3 separate regions of the Homo sapiens genome follow, and all the other regions are linked to region 3. The links are contacts of gene promoters, found by promoter capture Hi-C in blood cells and fetal thymus (Javierre and others, 2016). All regions are on one chromosome and are shown on one strand. Each heading gives the region's core, a stretch centred on a gene start or on the middle of the fragment in contact. The rest is flanking DNA. Distances are from core to core; before and after follow the strand shown.

Evidence for each region. Contacts are between HindIII fragments. The CHiCAGO score rates a contact against its expected background, and 5 or more counts as called.
Region 1: the fragment with the promoter of HHATL-AS1 here is called in contact with a fragment that was not itself captured in region 3 in 5 of 17 cell types (activated CD4 T cells, total B cells, naive B cells and 2 more); the score reaches 6.2 in activated CD4 T cells.
Region 2: a contact is called between the fragment with the promoter of KLHL40 here and a fragment that was not itself captured in region 3, in 2 of 17 cell types (activated CD4 T cells and total CD4 T cells). The highest score is 6.0, in activated CD4 T cells.

What each region holds. Positions count from the first base shown.
Region 1 is chr3:42,701,003-42,704,104 of GRCh38, forward strand. It overlaps HHATL-AS1 (HHATL antisense RNA 1), which reads left to right and starts at 1,539. Exons shown (of 3, transcript NR_146957.1): 1 at 1,539-1,727. It overlaps HHATL (hedgehog acyltransferase like), which reads right to left and starts at 1,796. Exons shown (of 12, transcript NM_020707.4): 1 at 1,577-1,796. RefSeq lists a silencer at 512-581. The HindIII fragment of the contact is 10,429 bases long and covers 1-3,102 here.
Region 2 is chr3:42,684,087-42,686,786 of GRCh38, forward strand. KLHL40 (kelch like family member 40) reads left to right here and starts at 1,451. Exons shown (of 6, transcript NM_152393.4): 1 at 1,451-2,684. The coding sequence starts at 1,533. RefSeq lists enhancers at 1-108, 1-225. The HindIII fragment of the contact is 7,370 bases long and covers 1-2,700 here.
Region 3 is chr3:42,425,088-42,428,405 of GRCh38, forward strand. No RefSeq gene overlaps it. Among named protein-coding and RNA genes, the nearest start is that of LYZL4, 16 kb to the left of the region's middle. The HindIII fragment of the contact is 3,859 bases long and covers 65-3,318 here.

The sequences.
Region 1 (3,102 bases), core at 289-2,788, 280 kb after region 3:
TCACAGGCCACCGAACACCAGTGCCCCATCCCAGCTGCTGCTCTTGCCCCCACCCCACCCATCAAGGCTCTTGCCCGCAGAGCCCTCACTCGCAGCCTGCCTCCCTCACCTTCATTTACATCTTCATACCTTCCAGAGGCACCGGCCCCACCCTCTGCCAAAACCGCTCCTGCCAAGGCCCCCATGACCTGCGTGCGGAGAAACCCCACCTCTATCACTACAGTCAGGTTTCTGCCTGCAGGGTCCCCACCTCGATCAGTGAGTCTCCCTTAGCTCCTCACAAAGCCCCAGCTTCTCTAAGACCCTTTCTCTGACTCCCACTCCCCTCCCTGAGATCCCATGACCACCCCAGGTGCTGCCCCTAGAGCCAAGCCTCCATCCTCGCATTAAGCCTCCAGCCTGTCACTGACCCCCATTCCCCCAACAAGTCCCTGAGCTCCAGCCTGTCACATCCCAGTCCCTGCCTGTGTCCGTGACCACACTGCCCCACTCTCTCAGCGCTCTGTGTATTCAGGCCCTGGGCACCAGCTGGAGGCTGTGCTATTTGAGGAGGTGCCCAGGAGTAGCGGATGTGGGGCCAGGCGGGGCCAGGCGGGGCCAGGGAGGGCACTGGCTGCTGTCCAAGGTGCTGACCAGAATCAGGCCCCGGCTGAGTCTCACCACTCCCTCCAGCGGGGGCCTAGCTTGTCCCCTGGAGAACTGCTGGGCCGTACTACGGCTCAGCTAGCACCTTTACCCTTCCTATCCCGCTTCAGCCTGGCTCAGGGGCTTCCCAAGGACTCCATGGATACAGACATAGGACCCAAATTAAAGGGAGGAAGCAGGGAACATGTCCAGGCAACTCTTGGGCTGACGGGGCCAAGAGGTGGCTGATGTGGCCCTTTTGCCCACCCTTGATCCTCCCCTAAATCTTCATCCCCAGCCCTGTAGCCATCTCCCCTGGGCCCCCCAGCAGCCGACGGTCTCCTCGTACAGATGGAGGGGTCATGGGCCAGATAGGGGCAGGGACCTGTCAAGGTCACATGGCAGACCTGGGACAGACTTCTGCCTGCCTCCCTTCAGGATTGGGTTTCTCAGTGACCCCCCTCTGGAATCTGGGGTAAGAGAAGACCACCACTGCCCCTGCCCACAGCAGAGGCTGCCAGCCTGATGGCTGTGCTGTCGGCCTGAGGGTGGAGGCACCTCCTCATCAGTTGGGTGGGGGTGGAGAGGCCCTGGGGATCAGGTTAATGGAGCAGGAGCTTGAAACCGGAGCATGGTGAAGAGCCCGTGAAATAGCTTTGTCAGCTGCCTCCCACTCGCCACTTTCCAATTTTAGCTCCCCATGGCCGGTGCGGGGTGTCCCCAGTGAGGCCTCTGCAAGGAGCTGGCCCCCAGCCTGGGGCCTCTCCTGATAGACCCCCAGACCAGGGCTGGCCTGTGGACACGGGGGCATACCCTTTCCCCTGGTCCTGCCTGCCCCAGATGCCCCGGGGGTAAAGCCCCTTTTGGGGCCTGTGATTTGGGATGAGGGCCTGGGGTGTGCCCCACAAGTCTCAAGAGCCCCAGAGTAGCTGCATCCCCAGCTGGCACTGACCTTGAGGAGGCCGCAAGGGACCCTGGCACACTGCCCACCTCAGGCTCTGGGGTCCGGCTTCCAACTGTCCGTCCGTGCGACCGGCTGAGCTCTGGGGCCACGGTGGGGTGTGTCCAGCCCTGGGGTCCCCACCCCCTTGAGGTTATGAGCGGTGAGTGGTGACAGCGGGAGGAGGAGGGGGAGGAGGAGGTGGCCTTCCTGGAGCGGAGCTGAGCAGAGTGGAGCAGAGCCGAGTGCTGCAGAGCTGCTGGCCACAGGGAGCCGCAGGGAGGATCCTTGAAGGGGGGCGGGTGCTGGGTGGGGGGAGGGTGTCCAGTAGCATAGGCTCAGACAGGGACACCTGGGCCTCTCTTCAGCCTGCCTCCCCTGGCTCCTAGAGAGCCTGTGCCTCTCTCTCACTGCTACCCAGGACTTCCCTCTTCCAGGAAGACTCCTGGTGGTCCCACCAGCCTCTCCAGGCTTGTAAGCCCTGCCCCCACCACAGACACACACAGTCACAACATGCAAACACTTTCATGCTTGGGCTCCAGGGACTCCAGCTCCTACCTTTACATATGACCTCCTAAGGGCTATCCCAGGGCAGACTTGTCTCGCCCCATGACCTGGTCCTTTTCATTATGCCGTGAGTCCTGGCTGGCCATGCATCAGTGCCTGAGGGAGGGCTGACTTGCCTGATGGGACTGGAACTGGCATGGGACATGTGGCTGAGAGGGATCCCCATAAGTCAGCCCTGTCCCATAGGGAGTGTCCTGGATGGAGGGGTGCTAGCAGGGTCACTTGGCAAGGCTTGTGGGTACTTGGAATGGCTGGTATCCTCTCGGTGGCAGAGTGGAGGCAGACAGGAAGACAGGTGTGTTCCTAACCAACTGGGAGTCCTGGTAGGACAGGGCCCTCATTCTGGAAGGGAGCATCCAAGGCCTCAGCCCTGGATACCTGAGGGGAGGGGCATCCTGAAGGTGCCCCTGAGATTAAGAACCTCTGACAGTGCCCCTTCGGTTGAGGCCAAGTCTCGGGCAGCTGTATGTGTCTGTGCTATCTAGGGGGACCTGTTCACCTGTGTGCTTGTGGGGAGGCTCTCGGGGGTAGAAGGAGCTTTGTGGCTGTGATCAGTCACAGGACAGCTCCTGGAGCCCCTGCTGATCCTATGACCCCAGCTTCAGGCTCAGTTGAGGAGGCAGGAGGGAGGTGCTGCTCCCCACCCATCAGGGCCCAGGAAGGGGAGAGACTGCACTTAGGCAGGGAGCTGCCTCCCGAGCACATAGACACGCTGGCCTGGAGAACAGCAAGGAGACGCCCAACCTACACACTCCACACAGGACACAGAGGCCCGTGTCTGTGGTCCCCGACCCTGAGAAGCATGAATGGTGACTACTGCACAGTGTGGGTGCTGGGTTAGAGCTGTGGTGGGTAATGGGCACTAGAGAGGCCAGCATCAGGAAGGGAAGGATACCTGAGCCAGACTTCAGGGTTAAGGAGGGCTTCCTCAGGGAGGGGTAGTCAAAGGTTGTTAGGAGTAAGTTAATCAT
Region 2 (2,700 bases), core at 201-2,700, 260 kb after region 3:
CAGTCCTAGCCCAGCCTGCTGTCATCTCTCCTATACCCACCCCCTCCCCCACTCCCCCGCCTGACGTTATAAACAAGTGACTCAGAGGAATGATGGGGGTGTGTCTCATAATAGTTCATTCCAATGTCCTGGGGGCTAAATTTAACACACAGCTGCAGCCTCTGGCACTTTGGGAACAAGTTAATCTTGGTGACTGAGGCTGATGTGTGTGTGTGTGTGTGTGTGTGTGTGTCTGGTGGTGGGGCGGGGTGGGGAGGGTGTGGGGAGGGGTGTCAGTAGTCTAGAACAAGGTAGGCATCAAGACTGGCTGTCCTGGGCTTCAACCCTGGTCCCTCAGACCATAGACAAGGTGCAGGGGCCCCATGGCCAGGCAGTCTCAGGTCTGGCCTAATATGCACCAAGAATAGTGAGTATAGATAGCTAAAGTCCTGAAATATTAAACTTGTAGTGTTACTTTTTGAACACTAGAATTCAGAATGTCACTCCCTAGAATGTTAAAACCCCGGGGGTTTAAAAACCTAGAATAGTAGAATCCTAAGAAATTAATTTGCTAGCACATCTGACACCTTAGAAGTGTTAAAACTAATAGTGTACTCCCAGGACACAGTACCTTGGTGCTTCTAAACTTCCAGCAGAGTTGAACTGAGGTCCTTAGCATCTAACTTTGCCACCTCCTCATTGTGTAGGAAGGGAAACTGTGGCTTAACAGAGCGACATGCCCTGCCCCAGGCCTCATAGGAAAGTGGCAACCTTGTTTACCTAAGGTACCTTCTTGCTTTCTTGCAAGGAGGAGGGACAGAAAGAGGAAAAGCTCTTCCCATTTTAAAGGTGAGGCAACGGGGGTGGTGTCTTATGTCTGTAATCTCAGCTACGAGGGAGGCTGAGGCAGAAGAATGGCTTGATCCCAGGAGTTCAAGTCCAGGCTGGACAACATAGTGAGACCCTGCCTCTTAAAATAAAGGCAGGGCAACAGGGCCGCCAAAAAGTGAACACCATGTCCAACTTCTGACCAGAAAACCCAAGCACCCTGTATCCAGGGGTAGCTGGAGTGAGACATATTCCGGGGGGGAAGATGGAGGCACCAGGACAGAAGTTCCCAGAAAGCATGAAGGAAGGGAGACCCTGGAAGAGAGGCTCCAGTGCTTTCCCGTCTCTGGACTGAGGGTCAGAGCTTAGGCCACCTTCTCCCCTAGGGGCATCTCCTGACCAAAGAATCCAGAGTCAAGACCTCTCCGTGCTCCATTTAGAAATGAGGCAGCCAGGCCCTCATCTTTCAGAAGGGCCCAGACACCCCACCCCCGTCCCATAAGCCCCCGGGGCTGAGTCAAGTCTTTCTCTGGGAGGGGGCCTCTGCCCAGCTGTCCCCTGTGCGTCATGTGCAGGAGGCCAGGCGGCTCGCCTTACAGGGACCCGGCCACCTCTATATATAGCCCCTCGAAGACAGCTGCTCAGTCTAAGCAAACCCCAGCAGGAAAGCAGGGGTACAGAGAGGAGCCCCCTTGGCACCGCCACCGCACCCTAGGCCACCCACCATGGCGCTGGGCTTGGAGCAGGCGGAGGAGCAGCGGTTGTACCAGCAGACGCTCCTGCAAGACGGGCTCAAAGACATGCTGGACCATGGCAAGTTCCTCGACTGTGTGGTGCGGGCGGGCGAGCGCGAGTTCCCGTGCCATCGCCTGGTGCTGGCCGCCTGCAGCCCCTACTTCCGGGCGCGCTTTCTAGCCGAGCCGGAGCGCGCGGGCGAGCTGCACCTGGAGGAGGTGTCCCCGGACGTGGTGGCCCAGGTGCTGCACTACCTGTACACATCAGAGATCGCGCTGGATGAGGCGAGCGTGCAGGATTTGTTCGCCGCGGCACACCGCTTCCAGATCCCTTCCATCTTCACCATCTGCGTGTCCTTCCTGCAGAAGCGCCTGTGCCTCTCCAACTGCTTGGCCGTCTTCCGTCTCGGCCTCCTGCTCGACTGCGCGCGTCTCGCCGTGGCTGCCCGCGACTTCATCTGCGCTCACTTCACGCTGGTGGCGCGCGACGCTGACTTCCTCGGACTCTCGGCCGACGAGCTCATCGCCATCATCTCCAGCGACGGCCTTAACGTGGAGAAGGAGGAGGCAGTGTTCGAGGCGGTGATGCGGTGGGCGGGTAGCGGCGACGCCGAGGCGCAGGCTGAGCGCCAGCGCGCGCTGCCCACCGTCTTCGAGAGCGTGCGCTGCCGCTTGCTGCCGCGCGCCTTTCTGGAAAGCCGCGTGGAGCGCCACCCTCTCGTGCGTGCCCAGCCCGAGTTGCTGCGCAAGGTGCAGATGGTGAAGGATGCACACGAGGGCCGCATCACCACGCTGCGGAAGAAAAAGAAGGGGAAGGATGGAGCCGGGGCCAAGGAGGCTGATAAGGGCACAAGCAAAGCCAAAGCAGAGGAGGATGAGGAGGCCGAACGTATCCTTCCTGGGATCCTCAATGACACCCTGCGCTTCGGCATGTTCCTGCAGGATCTCATCTTCATGATCAGTGAGGAGGGCGCTGTGGCCTACGATCCAGCAGCCAACGAGTGCTACTGTGCTTCCCTCTCCAACCAGGTCCCCAAGAACCACGTCAGCCTGGTTACCAAGGAGAACCAGGTCTTCGTGGCTGGAGGCCTCTTCTACAACGAAGACAACAAAGAGGACCCCATGAGCGCATACTTCCTGCAGGTGCCTGACCAGCCTT
Region 3 (3,318 bases), core at 744-3,243:
GTAAATCCCTTCATTCCTACGGTTAATCCCCAGAATCCATGATAATTAAGTCCCTTTCAATACAAGCTTCCGTCACTCAAATGTGCCAATTATGTTTATTATGTACCACAGGATTGCAAATCATGATATCATTGTATTATACTGCAATAAGTGAGTCACATAAATCTGATTAAAGTAGCCTAGCCTGAGGTTTAACTCTCAGAAACAACTTAACAACACAAGTATTCTGAAATCCAACAATACAATGTTATAATTGTGATTAAAAAAGCAATTTTAATTAAGAGTATTCTTAGGCCTCAGGGATACACATATCATTTTTTCAGACTACAGATTATTGATTTCTGGCAAGCCAGAGAAGGAAGAAGCTCCTGCCAGCCAGATCCCAGGATTAGGGTGATTCCCTATAACCCTAGGGAAAGGGCTTTGCCTCAGCAGTAGAGTTTGGTCTCTGCAACCAGACAGACCTAAAATAAAATCCAGGCTCCTCCACTTATTAACTTATGCCACCTCTGGGTCTCCATTTTCCCATTTAGGAAAAATGGGTGCTAGCCTGGCCAACATGATGAAAGAAATCCCGTCTCTACCAAAAAATGCAAAAATCAGCCAGGTGTGGTATTGCGCACCTGTAGTCCCAGCTACTCAGGAGGCTGAGGTGGGAGAATCACTTGAACCGGGGAGCTGGAGGTTGCAGTGAGCCGAGATTGTGCCAGTGCACTCCAGCCTGGGTGACAGAGTGAGAACTTGTCTCAAAAAAAAAAAAAAAAGAAAAGAAAAGAAAAAGAAAAATGGGTGCATTAACACCTCTCCTACAAAGGTATTAAGAGAATTTGAGAGCCCCTACCTCTCTCCTCCTGCAGAGGTCAGGTTCATCTCTGCCATTCACAAACACAACTCCCAAAGTACTAGGGAATTGACTTATTGCTTTGAATGTTAGCAAAGGAAAAGACTCAAAAATGCGTCATGCTTACCCTGTACACACTGTTACTCAGGGTAACTAAAAAGTTGAGGGGGAGTTTCCTTTTATAGAAGAATGTTTGCAAAAAAATGCAGAAGCAATGATGGAAATAGAACATCACCAGTTTGCAACTGCTAATGAACTAGTGGATTTGGGCACTGAGCCTCAATAGCTGCTCACATCCCCAAAACATAGAGTGCTGGATAGTGTATGCCTCCTGATGGAAGCACGCCCACGAAGCGATCTTGCCGAAAAGCATTGAACCAGAATCTGGTCAAGCCTCTATCAAACCACCAATTTCCAAATAACTGCAGGGGACAGAGGAACTTGCTTTATTTCATCATGAAGATGCAATCAACAACATCCAGACCATGGAGGATTCTACAGGGGAACAACCTACTTTCTTCAACATGTAATTTTTTAAAAAAGAGAGAAAAAGAGAGATTGAAAGGGAACCTGCTGAATAAAAGAAATTTATCAACTGATTAAAATTCATGAGTCTTATTTGGATCTTAATAGAAATGAACCAACTATAAAATAAATTTGAAGTAATCTGAGAAATATGAATGCTGACTATATATAATAAGGAATTACTAAATTTAAATGAAGTAATGGCTGGTGGGTCGTGGTAGCTCACGACTGTAATCCCAGCACTTTGGGAAGCTGAGGCAGGCAGATCACTTGAGGTCAGGAGTTCAAGGCCAGCCTGGCCAACATGGTGAAACCCCGTCTCTACTAAAAATACAAAAATTAGCTGGGCATGGTGGCGCATGGCTTTAATCCCAGCTACTCAGAAGGCTGAGATGGGAGAATCACTTGAACCCAGGAGGCGGGGGTTGCAGTGAGCAGAGATCGTGCCCTTGCACTCCAGCCTGAGCGACAGAGTGAGACTCCGTCTCAATAAACAAACAAACAAACAAACAAACAAATAAATAAATAAACTGCAGTAATGGTATTGTGATTATGTTTTTAAAGATAAATATTTATCTTTTTAGATACATAATGAAATTTTTATGAATAAAATTATACACTTTCTGGGATTTGCTGCAGAATAATCTGGGAGGGCATTGGGGGAGCACATTGATATGAACTATCACTGAATGTGGTCAATATGGGGTACATGTGGGTTCATAATTTTTTCTCCAAATTGTGTATATGTTTGAAATATTACCTAATTAAAAGTTGAAAAAACTCCCAAGCACTGGTGAGTAATGTAGGTTCTATTGAAGATTTGGGAACAGGATAGGGAGCTGGATTGGAAAGTGGAATGTATTCAAATGCTCCCACTGGACATCCAACCCCTCCCCACACACCTACCTCCTGACCTCCCCCTGCAGTCCAGTGTACTCCACTCAGCAAAACCGAGTCTTCCATGGAGCCCATGGAGCTTCCATGGGCAGCTTCTCAGGCCTGCCCTCTGGGGCCTCCATTCATCCTGCCACAGTGTCAAAGGGCTGACCACAGTGGATATTCAATAAGCATCCACTCTTCTTCCAGATAGCAAAACCCATTTAGGTGTCATGATCCAATCATGAGCACATGAGTACAGGCTGAATAGACCCTAAAAGAAATAAAGGTGAAATTACCAGAAGTATGAAACAACCCAGCTCTTTGTGGGTGTAGTCCCATGGCTGCAGAATCATTTAGGAGCTTTTTACAAATAAATATTCCAGTGCATGGGTGCAACCGCGTGTGCGTGCGCGTGCGCATGCGCGCACACACACACACACACACACACACACACACACACACACACACACACAGAGTCACCCTAATGACTCAGTATTGCTGAGGTAGGGCAGGGTTACCTGTATTGTCTCAAAGTCCCTCCAGATTCAGCCAGCCTAGTCTGAGCCCAGAGCTTAGAAACTGTTGGCGGGGCCCATAAAATGTAGCAATACATATGGGGAGAGAGAGAAGAAGAGAAATGATCAATTATCTATTGCTCAGAGTCTACAAGGCACAGATCCAAATCAGGCCCCAGAAAATGAATTCACTGAATGATCAATTCCCCCCAAACTGTGGAGCAAAGTATATACATGGGGTCTAGGATACACAGTGGCAACTTTTCGTTGTAGTGCCCTTCTGCCCGCCGGCCTGTGGGGAGTAGGGGCAATAGAGGGAATGTCCTTTCCCTGCCATCTGCCCATCAGTCCTGCCCATAGTACCCCCTGGATGGAACCCTGCTCCATTCCCTTCTACCACTCCTCCCTACAGAAAGGCTTGGTCTTCCTGACCCTGTTCTCCAGCTCCCACTGAGCTCCAAACCACCAAGATCAACTGGAGAATGGAGAGTGCTGTAGCCACATAGCTTCTTCCTGTCTTCAGATTGAGGAAGGTGAGGAGCAGGGGAAGGGTTCACT